Regions from separate parts of the Homo sapiens genome. Here region 2 is linked to region 1. The links are contacts of gene promoters, found by promoter capture Hi-C in human tissues and cell types (Jung and others, 2019). All regions are on one chromosome and are shown on one strand. Each heading gives the region's core, a stretch centred on a gene start or on the middle of the fragment in contact. The rest is flanking DNA. Distances are from core to core; before and after follow the strand shown.

Region 1 (7,487 bases), core at 3,664-6,163:
TGCCTCGGTCTCTCAAAATGCTGGGTTTACAGGCGCGAGCCACCTTGCCTGTTCAGAGATATTAAATTGCCCATATGCACCACAGACATTTCTGTGAGCAATGAAAAGAATTCAACAAGTATTTATATACTAACAAGAATATGACACATTAATAAGATAGTTAACTTGGTTAAGCAACTGTGAAACACTTATTACACTTCAGGCACTTTGTTAAAAGATAACAAATAATTTTTTCTTTTTGAGTCTTGCTCTGTCACCCAGGCTGCAGCGCAACGGCTCAATCTCTGCTCACTGCAACCTCCGTCTCCCAGGTTCAAGCAATTCTCCTGCCTCAGCCTCCAGAGTAGCTAGTACTAGAGGTGCACGCCACCACGCCCAGCTAATTTTTGTATTTTTAGTAGAGCCAGGGTTTCGCCATGTTGGCCAGGCTGGTCTCGAACGCCTGACCTCAGGTGATCCACCTGGTTCGGCTTCCCTAAGTGCTGGGATAACAGGTGTGAGCCATTGTGCCCAGCATGAATAATCATTTTTAAAAACCTAATGTGTCGGCTGGGCACATGATGGCGCCACTGCACTCCAGCCTGGGTGACACAGCGAGACTTGATCTCAAAAAAAAAAAAAAAAAACAATGTGTCTTCACCATAGCCTATACAAATTGCAGATATTAAAATGTGAATGGGAGCTGGGCATGGTGGCTCATGCCTGTAATCCCAGCACTTTGGGAGGCCAAGGCAGGCGGATGGCTTGAGCCCAGGAATTGGGGACCAGCCTGGGCAACATGGCGAAAACTTGTCTCTACAAAAAAATACAAAAATCAATTGAGCATGGAGGTTGAGGTTGCAGTGAGGCAAGATGGCACCACTGCAATCCAGCCTGAGCAACAGAGCAAGACCCTGTCTCAAAAAAAAAAAAAAAAAAAGTGAATCATCTAACAAAACACAGTAATTTTTGTTAATGAGGAAAAACATTTAATGCTGGCAAATAAGACTCCCACTCTCATACATTAGTCTTGAAATTTTGCACTACCTTTCTGGAAAGCCATTTGTTATCAGAATATTTAAATGTTACAGTTACAGCTTTCGGCTCTAAATTCTATTTATCTATCTCAATACATTTTTGATTCATTTCATTTTAGAGATAGGGTCTCACTATGTTGCCCAGGCTGGTCTCACACTCTTGGCATCAAGCAATCCTCCTACCTCAGCCTCCCGAAGTGCTGGGGTTTCAGGCTGAGCCACCATACACAGCAAAAAAAAAAATTGAGACATTGTTCTGTTCCCCAGCCAGGAATGTAGTGGCACAATCATAGCTCACTGCAGCCTCAAGCTCCTGGGCTCAATATCTCAATATATTTTCAAAAAGCGTATGTATAAGGAGACTAAAAGAAAAAAAAATGAAGATTATCTCGTTAATGGGAAATAGTGAATAATGGGATTGAATTTTTTTTTCTATATATTTAACAGTCAACAAGATTTCTTTTTTGGCGGGGGTTAATCCATCGCTGCAAGCATTTATCCTTTCTTTGTGTTACAAACAATCCAATTGTAGTATTTTAGCTATTTTTTTCTTGAGACAGGGTCTTACTCTGTGGCCCAGGCTGGAGTGTCGTGGCACAACCACAGCTCACTGCAGCCTCAACCTCCCCAGCTCAAGCCATCCTTCTGCCTCAGTCTCCCAAGCAGCTAGGACTACAGGTGCACACCATGGGCCTGGCCAATTTTTTGATTTTTTGTAGAGTTCTCACTATGTTGCCCAAGCTGGTCTCCAATTCTTAGGCTTCCCAAAGTGTTGGGATTGCAAACGTTAGCCAGTGTGCCAGGCCATCTTTCAGCTATTTATTTTTATTTTTTTGAGATGGAGTCTTGCTCTGTCACCAGGCTGGAGTGCAGTGGCACAATCTCAGCTCACTGCAATCTCCAACTCCCTGGTTCAAGTGATTCTCCTCCTGCCTCAGCCTCCCGAGTAGCTGGAATTAAAGGCATGTGCCACCATGCCCAGCTAGTTTTTCTATTTTTTAGTAGAGATGGGGTTTCACCATATTGGCCAGGATGGTCCCGATCTCCCGACCTCGTGATCCGCCTGCCTAGACCTCCCAAAGTGCTGGGATTACAGGCGTGAGCCACCACACCCGGCCTCAGCTATTTTTAAATGTTCAATAAATTATTGTTGACCGTACTCACCCAAGATTTCTGTATTATACAGCAATTCAATCTCAAGTCCATCTCATCACTGGCTGTAACTGTGGACAGTTCCTTAAATGTTTCCTCAAATATAAAATAGTTCCAACCGTATAGAGTGCTGTATACTGTGTCACCAAATGCATATTGTATAGGGTACTGTATTACACTACTATATACAGTATGTATTTAGAAACACAAAGTTTTTGACTATTTTTATTATATTCTGAAAGCGAACATCTTCAACTGGTAAATTACATGGTATATTAAATTATTTTCAAAAAAGATATTTTTATTTATATTATTATATGTATTTTTTGAGATGGTGTCTCACTCCCGTCATGCAGGCTGGAGAGCAGTGGCACGATCTCAGCTCACTGCAACCTCCACCACCTGGGTTCAAGCAATTCTCCTTCCTCAGCCTTCCCAGTAGCTAGGATTACAGGCATGCATGACCAAGCCTGGCTAAATTTTTTTTGCTGATTTTTATATTTTTAGTAGAGATGGGGTTTCACCATATTGGCCAGGCTGGTCTCGAACTCCTGACCTTGTGATCCGCCCACCTTGGCCTCCCAAAGTGCTGGGATTACAGGCGTAAGCCACCACGCCCGGCTAATTTTTGTATTTTTAGTAGAGATGGGGTTTCGCCATGTTGGCCAGGCTGGTCTGGAACTCCTGATCTCAGGTGATCCTTCTGCCTAAGCCTCCCAAAGTGATGGGATTACAGAAGTGAGCCACCGTGTGGGCCTCAGCCATACAACTTTGACAAAGTTCTTTGTGTGTCTTCCCAGTCAATAGTGGTTTCTCCTTTATTCCTGTTCCCACAGACGCAATTCTGATTTTTTTCCCCACCTAAATTTTCTTTTTCTGTCGCCCAGGCTAGAGTGCAGTGACACAATCTCGACTTACTGCAGCCTCCACCTCCTGGGTGCAAGCGATTCTCCTGCCTCAGCCTCCTGAGTAGCTGGGATTACAGGCCTCACCACTGCACCCGGCTAATTTTATGTATTTTCAGTGGAGACAGGGTTTCACCATGTTGGTTGGGCTGGTCTTGAACTCCTGGCCTCAAGTGATCTGCCCGCCTCAGCCTCCCAAAGTGCTGGGATTACAGGCGTGAGCCATCCCGCCTGGCCATATATTATTGTTATTTTAGATAGGGTCTCGCTATGTTGCCCAAGCTGGACTCAAGCAATATTCCTGAATAGCTGGGACTACATGCAAGCACCACAGCACCCTGCCAAAATAGCTAAAAAATACACCTTCCTGTAACAGCTCTGATAAATATCTTTTACTTCGTTTATTTTTCTTTTTTGAGATGCAGTCTCCCAGGCTGGAGTGCAGCGGCATGCTCTCGGCTCACTGCAACCTCCGCTTCATTGCAACCTCTGCCTCTGAGGTTCAGGCGATCCTCCCACCTCAGCGTCCCAAGTAGCTGGGATTGCAAGCCTGCACCAACATACCCAGCTAATTTTTTTTGTATTAGTAGAGACGGGTTTTATCACCTTGGCCAAGCTGGTCTTGAACTCCTGACCTCAAGTGATCCGCCCGCCTTGGACTCCTAAAGTGTTGGGATTACAGGCGTGAGCCACCGCACCCGGCCTCTTTTACTTCGCTTAAATGTCCAATTTTAGTAGTAAAATCCCGGAAAATGTTTTTAGGAGTATGTTTAACTGAAAAGCTCATATTTTCTTTCATTTTTGGGCAATTCTTAAGGTAAGCAAACTAATGTTGCATGATAAAGCCCCCATCAAGTATCTCATACTTAAGCAAAGACCTCAAATCATTGTGGCTTTATTGCAGCTTTCCTTCAAAATATCATCTGTGACTGAGGAAATCCCTATCTTCCTATCAGACTAATGAAACCACAGGACAGCAATTAGACTTTTAAGTATTGGGGGTTTAGAGCTCTAGATATTCGATATGCAGACTACTCATGTTTGTTTGTTTTAATAAAGACTGGTCCAAAGGCTCATTTTCACACAAGCTACAGTTTTTCAGTTCCAGGACCAGGTAAAGATGGTCAGCTCCGTGATCCATAAAATCCAAGGGTGACGACTCAGGATTAGGACCATTTCTTGGTGACATTGAGATGGTCGAGCTGGTCCGCAATGAATCTATGCGGGGGGAACTTGGAAGTGGCGGCCGCCTTTATGGCCTCGAAGGCCTCCCTCCTGCGCACCGCGGCGTGGCCGCGCTCCTGCTCCCGGGTCATGTAGGGCATGCTCAGCCAGTAATGGTTCTCCGCCTCGATCTCCAGGCGGCGGATCATGTTCTGCTTGGCGCGCAACGACACGAACCGCGGCCGCCGGTGCTTCCCGATCCACTGACGGCCGGGAATGCGGCCGCGCCAGAGGAGCGCAGTCAGGAACATGGTGCCTGCGGAAGAGAGGGACGGGCTTTGCGGAGGCGAACTGGCGCGGCCGGACCTGGAGAGAGCAGCGGGCGCGCGCTCCAGCTCACGCCTACGGGAGTTCCCGCACCGCCTCCCCTCCAGAGAAGCGGGGAGCCCAGGTAAGGCCAGCAGGCGAAGAAGGAGCTCCCTAGAGAACCGAATTCGCACAGCTACTCACCTGCCGCGCTGCTCAAGACTCTGCGTCTCCGCGGCCGCCAGCAGACGCCGTGGCGTAAGCGCACCCGTCTCGCGGGGTCTCCTGGGGCCTCGGCGAGAGACTTCGGCTCTCGCGAGAGAGGACTGCGCCTGCGCAGAGCCGAGGACGCGTCCGGCGCCGAGATTCAAACTAGTGGCGGGAGGCTGTGAGCTGAGCGGTGGGGTCTGCGTACGCCTGGAGTCCTTCCCCGCTGTGCTCAGCATGGACCCTATCCGGAGCTTCTGCGGGAAGCTGCGGTCTCTGGCCAGCACGCTGGACTGCGAGACGGCCCGGCTGCAGCGAGCGCTGGACGGAGAGGAAAGCGGTGCGTGAGGCGGGCGGCCAGGGCACGGTGCGTGGGGTGCGCCGCGGGCGGAGGGGCGTGGCGAGTGGACGGTATGTCCCACGGGAACCGCCAGGCACTGACGGCGTGGACGGCTGCCACCGAGGCGCAGGGCGGGTGCTGCGCGTCTCACTGCTCGGCGTTTGGCGTTAGCGTAGCTCCCGGGCCTGTTTATGGTTTATTCCTAGGAACCCTTGTCGCGTGTCCGTTTTAGACCCATGTACAACCCCACGGCTCTCTTGAGATAATGAAAGTAGCACTATTACGTTATAAACAGAGACAGCAGCACTTAAGAATAAGAACCTAAATTAACAGATTGAGCTCATAATACATATACTAATTTATACGTGATATGCTTTCGTCACATACAATATGTGTGCTTGTCAGTAAAATACCATGTAAACCTAAACAGTTTCTCTTAGAATCAAGCTATTTAACGTTCTTTACACAATACTTTACACATATAGTGACTTTTTTCTCACTCACGTGGTCCACAGTTGCAGTAAACCTCTGTGTTTTTCCCGCTAAACCATGTTGCCAACACAAACACTAGTACTCAACAGTGCTGGGGTTTAAAAAAATATGTGTATATAAATAAAGCAAAATTCACCATTCCCCTTTTTATTAGAGATTTTTTAAATTGTTGAAAAAGTAGTTCAGATTTTGGAATTATTTCATAAATGTCATAATTGTAATGTGCTTTAAAATATTACACCCTGCAGACTACTTTTACTTTAATTATATAATGAATGATCTCCAGTCACTTGAAAATGTCTATTTCTGCCCGGCGCGGTGGCTCACGCCTGTAATCCTAGCACTTTGGGAGGCTGAGGCGGGCGGATCACAAGGTCAGGAGATCGAGACCATTCTGGCTAACACGGTGAAACCCCGTCTCTACTAAAAATACAAAAAATTAGCCGGGCGTGGTGGCGGGCGCCGGTAGTCCCAGCTACTCGGGAGGCTGAGGTAGGAGAATGGCGTGAACCCGGGAGGCGGAACTTGCAGTGAGCCGAGATCCGCCACTGCACTCCAGCCTCGGCGACAGAGCAAGAGTCCGTCTCAAAAAGAAAAAAAGATTTGGCCGTGCACGGTGGCACACGCCTGTAATCCCAGCATTTTGGGAGGCCGAGGTGGGTGGATCGCCCGAGGTCAGGAGTTCAAGACCAGCCTGGCCAACGTGGTGAAACCTCGTCTCTACTAAAAATACAAAACAATTAGCTGGGCATAGTAGTGGGCGCCTGTAATCCCAGCTACTCGGAGGCTGAGGTGGGAGAATCGCTTGAACCCTGGAAGCGGAGGTTGCAGTGACCCGAGATCGCGCCACTGCACTCCAGCCTGAGCGATCTTAGACTCCATCTAAGAAAGAAAAAACTATCTTCAGATGGTCATCAGGAATGTGAAAAGACATCAATTTCATTAGTCATCAAGGAAATGCAAATTTCATTAGTCATCAAGGAAATGCAAATTAAATCTCAATGTAGTACAGTTGCATACCCAGCAGGATAGCTAAAACGAAAAAGAGAAAATTACCAAGTGTTTGGAAAGATGTGGAACAAATGCGCTTTTTGTTGTTGTTGTTGTTGTTGTTGGAGCAGTACGCACTTTTTTTTTCTTTTTTTAAAATTATTATACTTTTAAGTTCTAGGGTACATGTGCACAACGTGCAGGTTTCTTACATATGTATACATGCACCATGTTGGTGTGCTGTACCCATTATCTCGTCATTTACATTAGGTATATCTCCTAATGCTATCCCTCCCCCCTTCCCTCACCCCATGACAGGCCCAAGTGTGTGATGTTCCCCTTCCTGTGTCCAAGTGTTCTCATTGTTCAATTCCCACCTATGAGTGAGAACATGCGGTGTTTGGTTTTTTGTCCTTGCAATAGTTTGCTGAGAATGATGGTTTCCAGATTCATCCATGTCCCTACATAGGACATGAACTTATCCTTTTTTATGGCTGCACATGGTGTATATGTGTCACATTTTCTTAATCCAGTCTATCATTGATGGACATTTGGGTTGGTTCCAAGTCTTTGCTATTGTGAATAGTGCGGCAATAAACATAAGTGTGCATGTGTCTTTATAGCAGCATGATTTATAATCCTTTGGGTATATACCCAGTGATGGGATGGCTGGGTCAAATGGTATTTTTAGTTCTAGATCCTTGAGGAATTGCCACACTGTCTTCCACAATGGTTGAACTAGTTTACAGTCCTACCAACAGTGTAAAAGTGTTCCTATTTCTCCACATCCTCTCCAGCACCTGTTTTTTCCTGACTTTTTAATGATTGCCATTCTAACTGGTGTGAGATGGTATCTCATTGTGGTTTTGATTTGCATTTCTCTGATGGCCAGTGATGATGAGCAGGAACAAATGC
Region 2 (7,487 bases), core at 2,439-4,938, 150 kb before region 1:
GTTTCTACCCTGCCATCCCCAGTGTTCTGGTTTATCCTCATAGGCTGCTGTCTTAATGGACCCAAGGTGCTTTGGTTCCAGGAACAACACACAGAGCCCAAGTCCAGAGGCAGAAAAGCAAACATTTTTATCTTGTGGCTTTTTCTTTTTTTTTCCAAGAGAAACCTTCCCAGAAGCCCCATCAGCAGATTTCCTTTTTTAGCTCCATTGGCCCAATTGCGTCACATGCCTGAACCAATTGTTTAGCAGGGGAAATCACTCCGTCCTCTCTAGCTTCAACCATGAACTCTCAGTCCTGGGTAAGAGGGCAGCCTAGCCTTCCCTAAAGGACTTGGTAACTTGGAATAAGATGAACAAAATCAGAGTTCTATGAACAACGAAGTTGGGGGATGGCAGAGGGGACAGCGACTAACACGTCCATGTTAAACAAGAGTTCTCTGCTTTCTCTTCTTGAACTTGAGGGGCACAGCCTTGGGGATTTGGGGGATGCCCCTTTGATCATCTCATTTCTTCTCCTTGGTAGCAAGTAATTGATAGAATCACACCAGAAAAAAGAGCAAAATATGACAAAGAAACAACTTTAATACAGTGAGGATACTGGGGAACAGACCAGATGTGAGCAGACAGGGAAGTCTTTAGCAAAACTGTGGAGTGCCCAAAGCTTGGCTTCTGATGCGTGGAGCCTTTCCGTTTTGTGTTCTTCCTCCTCACTCCACATCCCACCCAAGAAACCTGGTATTTTAATATTCTCCTCTTTGCTCCATTAAAGCATCAAACATATTCACACAAGGTTTACGTGACCAAGGAGTGCAAGATAGGGATTAAAAAATAGACTTGAAATACCAGCTCTGCCATCTGCTAACTTTCTGACCATTTTGGGCCTCAAGTTCCTCACCAACAAAGTGAGAATAATGATACTACCCAGCAGGTTGTTACCGCTATGTTTATTAGTGTTCATCCTATTGGAGCAAGCTGACTGCTAACAACTTTAAAATCATGATGGCTTAACACAAGTTTGTTTCTCACTAACACAGAGTCTAGTGTCGATGGTCCTGATCGGGTGGCTTTCTGGTGACCTGAGGACTCAAGGATACTGCCCTTGCATTTTAAGGTGCCACTGTCTTCAACACAGGATCTTTAGGTTTTCGTTTGAAAGTTGTGGCTGCTTTAACTTGGCTTGGAAGCATTTCGTTGTTGAGAACTAGGACCCGAGATCCAGGGTGGGAGCTGGAATAGAAAACTTTGCTATGTGCCCAGGTAGAGATGTGATGAGCATCAAGCTAGTCTCTGCCACATTATTATTATGGCTGTTGCTGTTATTGTAACTAATCCTGTGTATTGAAACGGCAGTCATTTTCCAGATGTAACTACGGACCCTAACAGTTCACTGATGTTCATGGCCATAATTCCAGGAAGCCATTTCTGAGAGCTTATGTACCTTAAATCCCAGTTTGAGGTGTCTAGGGAAGAGACAATAGTCCATTAAGGATGACAGCAGGGAAGTCTAGTAACTTCTCTCCTCTCCACGATACTTAGCATGGTGTTGGACACAGCAGGTGCTGACCCAGTGACTGTGGCACTTACTCATGGTGGATGCACTACTCTATTTCCTTGGGTCCCTTTCCCATTTTCACACCCCTTGGCTCCACGTTTGCTTTTACTCTCGGTATCCAGAACCCATGCTTCTTTGTGAGAGGGCTGCCCTCATGCTTCTGGAGTCTCCTTTACCTGTGTGCAGAGAGAGTGGGGGATACCTAGAAACATGCATCCCTCTGAGATGGCCCTTGACCAATGGAGGGAGGGGCTCTCAGTCTCCAAATCTCCTCTGTGGGAGGAGCCAGTGCCCTGCAAGCACGGGACCTTGCTTGACATTGCACTCTTGCTTGGCTTCCTTCTCACTGTCTTGCATCCTCACTTCCCTGCAGGGGACACTGCCCAACACATCACTTTCTCACAAATCTGCATCTCTGGGATGCTTCTGGGGAACCAGCCTGAGACAGGAGGTAAGCTGAAGAAGCAGAATTTTGAAGATTCTGGGCTCTGTTTGAATGGAATAGCTGAGACGGGTCTTTGAGAACATCAGTATTTGCCTCCCACCTCAGTTTTTACATTCACAAATTAAAGGATCACACAGGCAGACTTTGGTATGATATGCAGTTCCTGAGCAGTGTTGGGACTCAAAGACGTTTATGGCAGCTCATCAGCCTGCATCCAGTGCTTCAAAGGGTTCTAAGAGACTGGCTCAGCCAACTGCCAGCCTGGTCATTTCGAAACTGAAATGAAAGCAGCAGAGAGAGTTATATTTATCAACTGAGTGAGACTTGCTTTTCTCAACAGGATATTTACGTTGTGAACTGGTAAAATCTGAACTGCAGAATATCAATTTCCAGACATTCTTCCTAGATGATGCCGTCTGCCACGGGTGAGTGTTTTCAGCTTTATGCTGACTATGTATTAATATAAAGCCATTCCTTACTCTTCTACCTTAATATATAGTCTCCTTGGTTTTAATTAGGTCTCTCCTTGCTTCTGAACTTCTGGTTTTCCCCAGTAATGTTTAGGAATGACCTCAGACCAGGTACATACAAGGTACAACGTGGTATGTACAAGGCTGTACCTCAAGCCACGTGAGAGGCTACCTTGGCCTTGGGCACTATGGTGAACACTGTAAAGTGCCACGTAGATCCCCTCAATAAGGACTTGCAGTCCCAGTGGTGCAGAGTGCTGCTGGCACACAGAGGTTGCCTGGGCTGCAGAGAGCAGCCTTACTGATGTCACACCCCTGCCCATGGCACCCAAATCTAACAACTGATTGATGTGGACACATAAAGATCTGGCCATCTCAGACCAACTTAAAACAACTCTGAAGGGCCATTTGAGCTTCCAAGCCCTGCACCTGTGGGACTGACCAAGGCTCTCTTTGACCTTGGCTCAATTTCTGTTTCTGCATACTGCTTCCTCCTCTTTACACAGGTGTTGACCCCTTAATAGGCATTCTACACAAAAAACTCCATCTTAGAGTCTGCTTTCAAGGGAACCCAACTTGTAACAGTCACATTTCCCTCCCTCACCAGCCAGACTCTCCCTGAAGACATCAGGGAGGAATAAGTAGAGTGGTCCTTCAGTGCTGGATGCAGCTTGGCTCTTGCTTTCAAACCCTCTGGGTGTCTGGTAAGGATAGGATAAGGAGAAAGAAGGGTGCAGTTTGAGGATTGTATGATGGCAGGGCTACCTCATTTTGATGCAGGGAAAGGGGTAAAGAGGCCTTCGCAGTCTCTGCAGGGGCCCTGCATTATAATCCCTGAGCATCTTTAACCGGGGCAGCTCTGTGTTCATTCCAGACATCGTCCCTGAGGGCTCCTTCTCCCTCATCCTCACACTCAAATGCTGAAGAGGTTAGCAAGTCCTGCTGACTCTTCAAACTGTATTCTGAATCCATCTACTCTTCTCCCTTTCCTCTGCCTCCACCCTAGCCAAAGCCACGACCATCTCTTACCTGGCTAAAGTGTGTCTTACCTCCTTGCAATTCATTCTCCTCACTATAGCCAGAAAGATTTTTGAATACTGATATTTTTCACTCCCAGGAATTTCACTGTTTCTTTTCATAATTGCCAGCTCTTGATTGTAATGATCTCCTCTCATTTGACATATAGATACCCACCCACATCTCTCCAAAATACGAAGTATACAGATTATAAGTTTCTGTTCTGATTTGACTATTAGCTCGGTTTCCTCAGTTATAAGTTTTTTCTTTTGTGGAGTCTGGTGATGCTCTTGTATGGAGTTTAGCATCTTCAAATGGTTGATGTATTTAGATTGTGTGTAAAGCTCTGTGCTTTCTGCTTGTTGTTGAAATGCAGCCTGGTTTCCTGCAGGTCCCTTGGGGTGTGGGTGGGAGCTGATGCCTTGGCTTGCATTGTGGGGAAGCTCAGCACAGACCACAAGGCAGGGGCTCACTGTCCCACCTGCGTGTAGAGGCTGCCTCTTCCTCCTGGGTGTCATCAGCCATCCAAAGCTCTGACCTGGTCTCCACCCCAGATTTCACACTGACAGGTACTGCTGGGTGCAGAAGCATCACTTCCTGACCTGGAAATCGTTCCTAATAATGCAACCGAAAGGCCATCCCACATTTTTTTCCTTCACGACACTGACCATAATGAAGAGTTAGTAAATATTTACTCATTTATGGCTGTATTTGCCCACTAAAGCAAGCTCTATGAAGGCAGAGATAAAGTCTGTTTGGGTTACCACCAGGTACCCAGTTCTCGACACTGCATTTGACACACACTTATTTCAAGAAATCGTTATTGAATAATGTGTTGTTTAGGCTTCCATAACACCTTTCATTTAAAGAAAGGGTTCTTAGCTCAACACAGTTTGAAATCAACCACGAGAGAGGACACCTTATCAAAGAAGGAGCAAAGGACCTTGTGCTTCTGTGTAGGTTCTGTGGGGAAAGGTACCTGGTGAGGTCTGCTGCACAGGCCCCTTGTCCAGAGGGAGCTGCAGTCCTGCCGCTGTCCTAGGCTGACTTCACCTTCCCGAGAGCAGGGAGCTCATTTTCCTCTGAACTCGCAGACTGCTGCCTGCAGAGAGGCGGAGCCTGCAGAAACTGCTGCAGGGCCATTATGGGGCATTCCAGGAGACGATTACATTAGCTGCTGGGTCCTGGGGGGCTCAGCAGGCAGGAGGTAGAAGGAAGGAGGGAGGAAGGGCTTCAGCCTGCACCGCTTTTGAGTTATCCTGAGGTGCCAGCACCCCCAACCCCTCATCAGCACCACTGCCATCTGCACCCACCTGCCCACTGCTCTTCGCAGTGGTTGCCAGCAGTTGGTAAGGGACCTTCCAGAAAAAGAGAGTGTTCATGCCACTTGAGGAAGAGGGGGCTGTAGAGATCACAGCTTCTCTCCGCACCTCATTCTATAGCTAAGGGAGCTGGCCCAGAGCACAGATGACTGGCCCAACGTCACACAGGCAGTAATAAGTGGGGCTAGGGCCAGGATGCAAAGTTACTGATCCCCAGGGCACTGGGACTGCAGCAGACTGCCCTCTCCTTCTCTCTCTTTTCCTCCTGTTTCATCCCCTTTCACCTTGTCTGCTTCATCTTGTTCCCAGCCTCTTACCACTTCAGCCCTGTGCCACCACTACAAAGACACTACCGCACCACTGACACCCCAGGCTCCTGGGCCACTACCATGCATTTTGCCTACTCCTGCTTGGGGCTGAGGGGCTTGCTGGCCTCTGACCAAAGCTCTCTCTATGGTTTCAAGCAGAATCTGGGAGCTGCAGTATTAATAGCAGGGAGGGCCTGCACCAGCCCAGGATTCCCACGCCTCTCCAGGAGCACTGGTGATTCATTTTACTCCCAGGCTCGCTCTTATCCCAGGAGAACAAGAGCCTGATTCCCAGATTCCAGATCCGATTCCCTGAGATGAGAATATTCCTGAAGCCCCTGGACTGTGCATGGCTTTCATTTGACAATCTCGAACACATACCTTTGTCTTTATCCTCTCTGATCGCCTTCTGCCACAGCTCCTCCTGCTTGCCCACCTCCCCCAAACAAGATCATTCCCTTGAGTCACTCTCATATCTGACATTACGCCTCGACTCTTGTACCCAGCACACTGTATTGCAATGACCTGCTTCTTTCTCTGTTTCTTAGTCCTTTCAGGGAGCACCTTCAGTGCAGAATATGTCTCCAGCACCTAAAGAGCTGGCGCTGAGAAGGTCCTCAATCATTGTCGGTTGCAGGGGATCTGGCCACCTGGGATCCAGCTCTGTGGTGCAAATGGGAGGAAGGGAGGCAGAGCCAGGTTTCCCATCCCCAAACCGCCCAACCCCACCTCCCACCTCCCACCCTCAGTTGGAGCCTAAGGTGACAAGGGGCTGCTGCTCCTACCTTGCTATGTTACAATTTTCTAACTAACCAGAGCCTGTCCCCTCAGATGAATGTGTGGGAGGGAGAATAGCCCGAGTGAGGAGGCCCTCCCAGCATTCCTGACCAGCTGGGGATCCTGGCGGGACGGATCCTCCACAGGAGCGTTTTTCTAGGGTGTGTTCTATGGAACGCTGGACCTGTGATGTGCTCCGGGAATAAAAGGTTCAGAGGTTGCTTTTGGGAAATGCCGCTTCCTACAAACCTGTCTGTCCCTGTTGTAGCTTCACGGTACACCCTGCAGCACGAAATGTGAATTGTAAAACAGTAAAAACAAAACATTAACAGCGGGGGACATTCCTCTGCTGACCCCAAAGTTCAGCAGGTGCGGGACAGGGGAGGGGCGGGCTCTCTTGTCTGCATCAGGCTTGGGGAGCCATCTCCGCCTCGGGGCTCGCAGACAGGGCTTCTCTGCCAAAGCAGCACCTCGGGGCGTGTTCTCCCACCCATCTGTGTTCAGGCATCCCTTCCCTCGCATCTGGATTTTGTTTAGGCCTATTTGCAATTCCTTAAAAAAAATCTAAGAAATAGTTGGAGCCTGAAAGAGAGCTGGCCAATGAAACGCCCCGTTGGGGCATTACCGCATCGGTGAGTGGCTGCCCTGAGGCGATGGCTGCGTTTCCGGGGCACCGCCGTGCGCCGGTGCCCACGCGTACCAGGCTTCAGGGGAGCACTCGGGAAGCGCGGGGGGTCGCGTGCCCTTGGCCGGAGGCCTGGTCGCCCGCTGGCCTCGCCATTCTCGGCTCCGCTGCTGTTGCCTGCGCGCCTGTGGCGGAGCAAGCCTGCCTCCAGGGCAGCCTCACTGCCGGGATCCTGGGCAGACCTCCCACGTGATAACCGTGATCACGGTGTTGATGCTCACTCTGGGGCAAGGGTGCTCACGTGTTCTCGTAATTGGGCGGAGTAGCCCTTCCTTCAAAGTCAGCCCCGGTCCCCTTGCACTGTGCAGCCCCTCTCTGCCGGACCCTGCCCGCATTAAATCTCCCCTTAACCTCTAAAATGCTCATTGCCAGCGCCCTTCGTTTGGTATTTGTAGCAGATACTGTCTCCTGCTGTAGCGCCATGTCTGTTCCCCCTTTCTACCATGATATAAAACCTCCTGATTTTTAGCTGGGCGCATGGTTCTGGAATCATGACTATGTTCCCAATTCCCTTGCAACTAGATGTGACTAAGTTCTGGCCAATGGGATGGTCATGTTCTACTTCCAGGAAGTGTCCCTAAAATAAGGGAATATGTCTTTTTAGGTCCCTTCCTCTCTCCAGCTGTCTGGAATGGAGCTACCATGTCTGGTGCCCAAGCAGCCAGCTCTGACCCAGAGTTAACATATTATGGATTGTGGAGCCACAGGATGGAGTAGCCTGGGTCTGATGGTTCTGTTAGTCAAGGCTAGTCAAAGAAGCAGGACCAACAGGAAATACATATGTTTATGTATGTATATGTTATGTATATGCTATGTATACACATACACACACACACAGATACACAGAGAGAGAGAGAGTTAAGAAAGTGGATCATGTGATTGTGGGGCTGGCAAGTTCAAAATCTGCAGAC

What was found. The method cuts DNA at HindIII sites, captures the fragments that hold promoters and counts their contacts. A contact is called where the count stands out against the background at its distance.
Region 2: a fragment that was not itself captured here is called in contact with the fragment with the promoter of SKA3 in region 1 in 1 of the 25 tissues and cell types used here (spleen).

What each region holds. Positions count from the first base shown.
Region 1 is chr13:21,173,978-21,181,464 of GRCh38, reverse strand. It overlaps SKA3 (spindle and kinetochore associated complex subunit 3), which reads left to right and starts at 4,913. Exons shown (of 9, transcript NM_145061.6): 1 at 4,913-5,090. The coding sequence starts at 4,988. MRPL57 (mitochondrial ribosomal protein L57) reads right to left here and starts at 4,807. Exons shown (of 2, transcript NM_024026.5): 1 at 4,748-4,807; 2 at 2,381-4,553. The coding sequence starts at 4,548. The coding sequence ends at 4,240. RefSeq lists enhancers at 4,338-4,657, 4,673-5,395, 6,118-6,840. The HindIII fragment of the contact is 23,400 bases long and covers 1-7,487 here.
Region 2 is chr13:21,325,509-21,332,995 of GRCh38, reverse strand. LINC00539 (long intergenic non-protein coding RNA 539) reads left to right here. Exons shown (of 3, transcript NR_103841.1): 2 at 2,338-2,422. It also overlaps the pseudogene MIPEPP3. Among named protein-coding and RNA genes, the nearest start is that of LINC00539, 16 kb to the left of the region's middle. The HindIII fragment of the contact is 8,475 bases long and covers 1-7,487 here.